3 separate regions of the Homo sapiens genome follow, and all the other regions are linked to region 1. The links are contacts of gene promoters, found by promoter capture Hi-C in human tissues and cell types (Jung and others, 2019). All regions are on one chromosome and are shown on one strand. The core of a region is centred on a gene start or on the middle of the fragment in contact, and the rest is flanking DNA. Distances in the headings are between cores, read along the strand shown.

What was found. Contacts are between HindIII fragments. The study calls those that stand out against the background at their distance.
Region 2: a contact is called between a fragment that was not itself captured here and the fragment with the promoter of ATAD3A in region 1, in 11 of the 25 tissues and cell types used here (IMR-90 fibroblasts, adrenal gland, aorta and 8 more).
Region 3: the fragment with the promoter of MIB2 here is called in contact with the fragment with the promoter of ATAD3A in region 1 in 1 of the 25 tissues and cell types used here (mesendoderm cells).

What each region holds. Positions count from the first base shown.
Region 1 is chr1:1,510,792-1,513,491 of GRCh38, reverse strand. It overlaps ATAD3A (ATPase family AAA domain containing 3A), which reads right to left and starts at 1,330. Exons shown (of 16, transcript NM_001170535.3): 1 at 1,019-1,330. The coding sequence starts at 1,223. RefSeq lists silencers at 1,213-1,372, 1,823-2,022 and an enhancer at 1,523-1,582. The HindIII fragment of the contact is 15,639 bases long and covers 1-2,700 here.
Region 2 is chr1:1,583,037-1,585,736 of GRCh38, reverse strand. No RefSeq gene overlaps it. Among named protein-coding and RNA genes, the nearest start is that of SSU72-AS1, 9.4 kb to the right of the region's middle. The HindIII fragment of the contact is 3,924 bases long and covers 1-2,700 here.
Region 3 is chr1:1,614,156-1,616,855 of GRCh38, reverse strand. MIB2 (MIB E3 ubiquitin protein ligase 2) reads right to left here and starts at 1,356. Exons shown (of 20, transcript NM_001170687.4): 1 at 1,223-1,356; 2 at 242-348. RefSeq lists silencers at 422-511, 542-1,591 and an enhancer at 1,692-1,861. The HindIII fragment of the contact is 4,042 bases long and covers 1-2,700 here.

The DNA of each region.
Region 1 (2,700 bases), core at 81-2,580:
CAGAGCGGACTGCGGGTCAGGAGCTCCGGGGCCGCCAGGACTGGAGCAACTCAGAGGCACAGGTCTGCACTATGGGGAGGCGGCCTGAGGCTGCTCAACCAGGCCTGTACCACTGCAGGGGGCCGCAGGCTGATCACTACGATTCAGCTTCTGGAAGTGGGAGAAGTTTCAATCTCTAAGTGAAGTTAGCGGGTGAAAACCCCCAGGAACTAGGACACAAAGGAACCCTCCAAATAAGCCTGCAGCAAGAAAGTCAGTCACCAACATCCGCTGTCCTCCGAGGTGCCCTGAAGTCCAGCCCTTGATTCCCATCCTAACCTGATGGTTAAAATTACCGAGGAAGGCCATGAGCAGCGGCTCACGCCTGTCATCCCAGCGCTTTGGGAGGCCGAGGTGGGCGAATCACCTGAGGCCAGAATTCAAGACCAGCCTGAACAACATGGTGAGTGCTCACACCCTGAGGGCCTTGGGTCAGGGGTTTACTCAAGCTGAGCAGCACGGCCTGGCCTGTGGCTTCACAGACCTCGCCGTGCAAATGCTAACGTCTTCCAACAAGAAGTGCAAATCTGCTAGTCTCGTTAGAATCAAGTAACTCTCAAATACGCTTCCCTTGTTACGTGGAAACTGCTAGCAACCACCCAACAAACCCATCTACCCATCTGGCCACGCCTTGGCCTGTGCCACGTGGAGGCGGCAAGCGCAGAAGGATCCCGCACGCTCGGCGGTAACTGAAGACCACGGCCAGCCCCAGACCCTGACCCCTGTAACCTATGAGCGCCACCTCCGCACCGCTTTCCGCACCTGACCCGCTCCTGACAGCTGCAGAGGTGCAAACGGGTGACGGAAAGAGTCCGATCCTCCCGGCACGCGACACGGCTCCGGCCGGGGGTGCTCCGGGGGCGCAGTCTCGCCCGGGAAGTGGCTGCCGACAGCGGCGAGGAGCGGCAAGGGCCAGGGCTCCCGCTTCCCCGGCCCGTCCCGCCCGCCCGCCCGCGCCGCCCCGCCCCGCCGCACTCACGCGAGTGCTCCAGCTCGCGCGCCGCCTTGGCGGCGCGCTCCAGGCCGGTGGGGTCGAAGTTGCTCCATTTGTCCTTGGGCGCCGGCCGGTCTCCCAACCCGCGGTCCCCGCCGCCCTCGGCCCCGGGCTGCGCGGGCGGCAAAGGCGGCGGCGGCCCCGCGCCTTCACCCTTGGGGCCCTTGTTAATGCCGAAGAGCCACGACATGCTCGCACCGCCGCCGCCGCTACCGCCGCCGGGACCCCCACCCGAGTCTGACTCGCGCGCGGCTGGGAGCAGCCTCCACGCGCCGCGAGCCGGTGGTCACCGCCACTGCGCAGGCGCCACACACACCCCTTCCTCCCGGCGATAGAAGCGCGTAAGGGACACGCGCGCAGCCCTTGGATTGGCCCCGAGGACAGTGACGCCATAGCGACGGCGCCGCGACTGCCGAACAGGCTTTGGGAGCCAGCGGGGCGGGAGCGGCGAAGCATCTGGCTACGGGAGCCACGCCGGGACAAAATTCCCGAGGGACGTAGGCGAACCCAAGGCAGCGTCAGCCCCGCGCCGCATCCGCGTGGGCTCCGTTGCTAGGGGCTCCGTTGCTAGGGGCTCCGAGGAGTTCCGGCCTTGGCGGCAGCGGGTGGCAAGTTTCCAGGGAGCCCCAAGGTTCTCGATCCGTGCGGCGGGGCGCCCTGCGGTGAGTCCAGGACGCAGAGAAGAGTCTCGCGGGAACCTCACCCGAGGCGGCACCGGCGCCCGGGCAAGCCGAGCCCTTCCGCGATGAGTCGGCGCCCTGGGGTCGCTGCGCCAAGAGCTCAGGAGAGGCGCCTCCCCTCCTCGGTGTCTCCGCAGCCCGCACGGCCCTCCCGCCCAAGACCCCGGGGCGACCCCTTCCCGCGTGGCGGGGCCAGCGAGCTCCTCTTGCGGGGCGTGGACGGGGCCGGGGTGCCCGGGCAGGCGCCGCCCCGGAGCCCACGGTCCACGCGCTCCCAGCGGCCCTGACTTTCTCCTTGATGGAACTGGTTGACTTCACGGAATATATGGAGTGACTTTTCCCACTGGATTGGAAACTGTTTTAAGCCTGAATAATGTTAGATACAATGAGTTCTAAACTTCCCTTCAAAGAATCAGTATATCAGTATGTTCAGTCTTTGTCCTGCATTTTAAAGTCTACCTTCCTCGCAGTTTCAGTAAACAACCTTTTCCACCAGTTCTAGTCAGTAGTTGACATCTGTTGCCCTGGTCACCTGCTCCGTCCTAACTAATCCCGGTCTCCTGCTTTGACCTGAGTCACCTTTAGTTACCTGTCCCATAACCATTTTTCCCGCCAAACCACTCACCCCGCCACTCTGGCCCATACTCCTGCTCCCTTTAAAATAGCCAATGGGCACTAGTTTAGACTGTGCATTCTAACCCTAGCCAATAGGGGAACCACACAGCAGTAGGGGCTACCCGCGTCAGGAATAAGAACCCCTTCCCCTCCCTTGTCCAAGCGCTCGCCATTGCTCCATCTATGAGATGTCCCCTTCTATAGAAGTAAATTATCTAGCTGAGAAAAATTTATATTCGAGTTCTACTTCTTTGGCGGCACAGAAAATTTACATATAACACAGTGAGCTGCCGAGATCTCGTCACTGCACTCCAGTCTGGGCGACTGAGTCAGACTCTGTCAAAAAAAAAAAAAAAAGCCAGAAAATGCCGG
Region 2 (2,700 bases), core at 111-2,610, 72 kb before region 1:
AATGCCAGCACTTTGGGAGGCCGAGGCAGGTGGATCACGAGGTCAGAAGTTCGAGACCATCCTGGCTAACACGGTGAAACCCTGTCTCTACTAAAAATACAAAAAATTAGCCGGGCGTGGTGGCGGGTGCCTGTAGTCCCAGCTATTTGGGAGGCTGAGGCAGGAGAATGGCGTGAACCTGGGAGGCAGAGCTTGCAGTGAGCTGAGATTGCGCCATTGCACTCCAGCCTGGGCGACACAGCGAGACTCCATCTCAAAAAAAAAATTAGCCAGGCGTGGTGGCGGGCACTTGTAGTCCCAGCTACTTGGGAGGCTGAGGCAGAAGAATGGCATGAACCCGGGAGGTGAAGCTTGCAGTGAGCCGAGATTGCACCACTGCACTCCAGCCTGGGCAATAGAGCAAGACTCCGTCTCAAAACAAACAAACAAACAAATAAACAAACAAAAAAAGTTAGCTGGACATGGTGGCATGCACCTGTAATCCCAGCTAGTCTAGAGGCTGAGGCAGGAGAATCGCTTGAACTCACAAGGCAGAGGTTGCAGTGAGCCAAGATTGCACCGCTGCACTCCAGCCTGGACTGCAGAGTGAGATTCTGTTTCAAAAGAAAACAAAACAACAACGAAAGTTACTGGGTCTGTCGCCACCATCTGAAACAGTGGTCCATGTGCTTGACAATTCCTGATAGGATCTATGGAAGCTTCTTTGCTCTTCAGAAAATAAGAAGAAATGAAATGGGATTCTCAAACATTAAGTCACAGCAGATTTTTTGGTTCTCCAGCAGGCTATATTATGGCCCAACTTGGGCAAACTGTACTTATTTATCTTTCTTTTTAATTTTTCTCAGCTTCTGTTCTGCTCTAACTCAGGCACATTTTAAAACTGATGGGTGGCCAGGCACGGTGGCTCACGCCTGTAATCCCAACACTTTGGGAGGCTAAAGTGGGAGGATCACGAGGTCAGGAGTTCGAGACCAGCCTGGCCAACATGGTGAAACCCCGTCTCTACTAAAAATACAAAAAATTAGCCAGGCGTGGTGGCACACGCCTGTAATTGCAACTACTCAGGAGGCTGAGGCAAGAAAATTGCTTGAACCCGGGACGCAGAGGTTGCACTGAGCCAAGATCATGCCACTGCACTCCAGCCTGGTCGACACAGCAAGGCGCTGTCTCAAAAACAAAAACAAAAACAAAAAAACCCCAAAACTGGCCGGGCACGGTGGCTCACGCCTGTAATCCTGGCACTTTGGGAGGCTGAGGTGGGTGGATCACAAGGTCAGGAGACTGAGACCATCCTGGCTAATCGGTGAAATCCCGTCTCTACTAAAAATACAAAAAATTAGCCGGGTGTGGTGGTGGGTGCCTGTAGTCCCAGTTACTCGGGAGGCTGAGGCAGGAGAATGGTGTGAACCTGGGAGATGGAGCTTGCAGTAAGCTGAGATTGCGCCACTGCACTCCAGCCTGGGCCACAGCGAGACTCCGTCTCAAAAAAAAAAAAAAAAAATTAATTGGCGGGCGCGGTGGCTCACGCCTGTAATCCCAGCACTTTGGGAGGCCGAGGCGGGCGGATCATCTGAGGTCTGGAGTCTGAGACCAGCCTGACCAACATGGAGAAACCCCATCTCTACTAAAAATACAAAATTAATGGCGCATGCCTGTAATCCCAGCTACTCGGGAGGCTGAAGCAGAAGAATTGCTTGAACCCGGGAGACAGAGGTTGTGGTGAGCTGAGATCATGCCATTGCACTCCAGCCTGGGCAACAAGAGCAAAACTCCATCTCAAAAAAAAAAAAAAAATTTTTATGCTTTGGGGCAGTGGCAGTGGTAACGGGGCTGTGTGCAGGAGGAGCATCGATCGGGCAGGGTGGATGTGGGCTGGGGCAGCCCCGGGTCCCAGGCCCTGCAACGGTGTGCAGGGCGGGAGTGCCCAGTCGGGCTGCATTCCCAGGTGCACGGCGTGCCACTGAGCTGCTCACGTAGCTGCCACCATCTGTGCTGGGCCCAGCCGAGACGCAGAACCTCGTGGACATGACCTAGGAAGACCCAGACAGTGTGCCCCACGGATGTCCTGGATCAAAGGGACCCAGGTTGGTGATTACTTCTACTCCTTTGGCGGCTGTTATTGGCACGCAGCCTACCGGTAGCTGCAGCAAGGGCCATCCTGGACAAGCTTGTGCAGTCCACCCTCTCGGACCTCAGGGTGTACCTGGGGGCATCCACGCCAGACTTGTAGGAGCAGTCCCCATGGCACCGACTGACACTTCTAAGAGCCCAGAAGATACATCTGGCCCCCGTAGGCTGGGCTGGCAGAAGGGATAGCTGAGATGCGTTCTCTTTGCACTTGGTGGGGAGGGTCTGACTCGAGACACTTCCCCAACAGTAGGGAATAAAATTGTCATGGTTGAATAGACCGATTGTGGATTGTGTTCCATCTACTGAGACTGGCACACTGCCTCCTGAAATGAAAGTGGATCTCATCACCAGAGGAGAAATGAGGAACTGCGTATCAGCTAGCCTTCACTGTGTAACAGACCATCCCAAAATTTGGCAGCAAAAACAGGTCACGTATTTGTCCACAATTCTGTGGGTTGGCAATCTGCACTGGGCTCACCTGCGGACCCTCATGGAGCTGTGGTCATTTGTCACATCCGCTACACCTGGATGGTCTAGGACAGCCTGACTCACTTGTCTGGCAGGTGACAG
Region 3 (2,700 bases), core at 107-2,606, 100 kb before region 1:
TCCTGCGCTGCGGCCGCTCTGCCCCAATCCTGCAGGTGCCTATCAGAGGCCTGTCTGGCACCTCTGCTTTCTTCCTCCATGGGTTCCGAACTCAGAGAGGAGACGCGGGATTACTCACCACTCCCCTCCACTCGCATGCATGCTCAGACACAAACACAGCCTCTCTGACGTGGCTTCCACGGAGCCCCAAAGTGGGAGAGCCAAGTGCAAACTATCAGGCCGCGGACGATCAAGAGCTCACCTGTCCGGCCGTCCAGTCGCCCGCCGGGCCGCCTTGAGGCTCCTGGGCTGCAGCCCTGATGCCTGGAAACTTTGGGACTGGCCTCTAGCCTCGCTGGGCTTCCAACCCTGTGGCCGAGGGGAGATGCCAAGATGCACAGTTAGCACCTCGACCCGCGGCTCGGTCGCCTGTCTGCCCCCGGGGCTGCCCGCCGGCTCCAGGTCCACTCGGGCCCACGGCCGCGACACTCAGGGCCGCCGCCTGCCCGGATGGGCTCCCTGGGGTCTGAGCGCGCAGGAGCCGCCAGCGCCGGGCCCGTAATTGCGTGCGCCCGGGGTCTGGCGGCCGCGGCTCGCAGACGTCAGGAGGCTCCGGGACGCGCACGGGCGCCGGCGCAGGGGAACGGGCGGGCCAGGGGCGGGCACGGCGGGCACCCCCACCCGGAGCGCGCCCCGCCCCCTGTCATTCGTGCCCGTGGCTCGCGGAGGCCGCCCGGCCCTGTCCGCTGCCAGACCTTGCCAGGGCCGCGCAGTACCTGCCGACCCCAACTTGCCCGGACGTTTCCGTCCCGCCCGCTCCGCTCGGGGGCGCGGGACCGCCGGCCAGTCCGTCTGTCGGTCTGTCCCGGCGTTCGAGGCCACCCACCGGCCCCGACTGCTCAGCGGCGGCCAGGCCAGGCCAGAGCGCCTGCCGCGCGCCGCAGCCCACCCGGCCCGGACGACGACCCCAGCGCCGACCCCAGCGCCGCTGGCCCCGGGCCGCGCGAGGCCTGCCGGGAGCTGGAGTCCCGCGCGGGTGGCCGGACCACAACTCCCAGGAGGCCCCGCGGCGGCGCTGCGCGCGCAGCCCCAGCCCATCCCGTGCGGACCCTACGCCGAGTCCAGCCCGGGGCTGCTGGGCCAGCGGGAGCGGGAACCGGACGGCGCTCGCGTTCTGCCAGAGCGGAGAACGACTCGGGGACGGTGCGGAGGACCAGGGGAGGAGATCCGCGCCCGCACGCACCATCAGCCGAGAGGACGGCCCGCATCGCGCCAGTGACCTAGGAGCGACTCGGGGACGGCTTCGGGCTCCCAGGCCCTCCTGGGCCACCGGGCACTGAGGAGAGCGGCGGCTGGAAACTGTGGGACCCGAAGGGCGGGAGCCCAGGGCCCGCCCCCGCCGGAGCGCCCCCGCCATGGCCACGCCCCCGCCACGGGGATGGGCAGGGCAAGCACCGGAAGTGCGTCACGCGGGAGCGTCTGCGTCGCCTACCCTGCGTGGCGCAGCTAGGTTCCGAGCGGCTTAGCCTCCGGGCGCCTGCGCAGTGGCGGTCCTAGAGACGCACTCGGTTGCCATAGAGACGGGGGCTTGGGAGCGACGTCGCGCTCGCTGGCACTGGCGGCACTTGCCGCGCCGCAGCCACCTCTTTCCGACTCCACCAGTGCGGGCCCTATCCGGGGTTTTGAGTCACGCAGACCTGGACACAGCGAGAAACGGCAGTCCGGGCCCGTCCTCCCGCCCCGGGTTCTGCACCCCAGAGTTGGACGCTTGCTTCTCGCTTTCTCCTGAGAGAAGTCTCCGCGTTTCTGAACAATGCACTGCTAGTTTCTCATTTCTTTCTTTCTTTCTTTTTTTTTTTTTGGAGACGGAGCCTCGCCCTGTCGCCCAGGCTGGAGTGCAATGGCGCGATCTCGGCTCATTGCAACCTCCGCCTCCAGGGCTTAAACTATTCTCTTGCTTCAGCCTCCCGAGCAGCTGGGACTACAGGCATGCGCTACCACGCACAGCTAATTTTTGCATTTTTAGTCAAGACGGGGTTTCACCATTTTGGCCAGGCTGATTTCGAACTCCTGACCTCGTGATCTGCCCTCCTAGGGCTCCCAACGTGCTGGGATTATAGGCGTGAGCCACCGCGCCCGGCCTCTCATTTCTTAATTGTAGACATTGCGTACTTCCGGAGAAGGTCCCTGAGAACCTGGCTGATCTTCCCCGCTGCACCCCTCACGTGGTCCTGTTAGCTCCCAAACTGTCAACCTGAAAGGAAACCCAGAGGCAGGCTCTCCAGGACAAGTGAGTTAATCTGGGAATCGCAGGGGGTTGCAGCCTAGGCTGTTCGTGCCATGACAGATCATAGGCCTATCTGAGAGGGCCGGGCGAAGGGGAAAATACAGATGAGCTCACAAAAGTTGTTTTGTAACAAAAACCACTGGCTGTGGGCGCTTGCTGCAGGAGTGGGCGTTAGCTTGTTGTTGGAGAGAGCCTTACCAGGCCGACGTCCTTGTGCAAGCTGCTTATCTAGAATACTGCAGTCCTGAGGAATTTCCCTGCAGTAAGTCCGGTTACAGGCAAACGTGCAGGACGTGCAGGAGCGTCTTGTGAGGAGGCCTGCTGCAGGTATTCCTGCATGAGAGCTCCCCCTTCGTGGCCTCCCGACTCCATTTGTTTAGGGATTGGTGGAAGTAGTTCCATTTTGGTACCTGCAACTTTCACAGCTGTCGTGA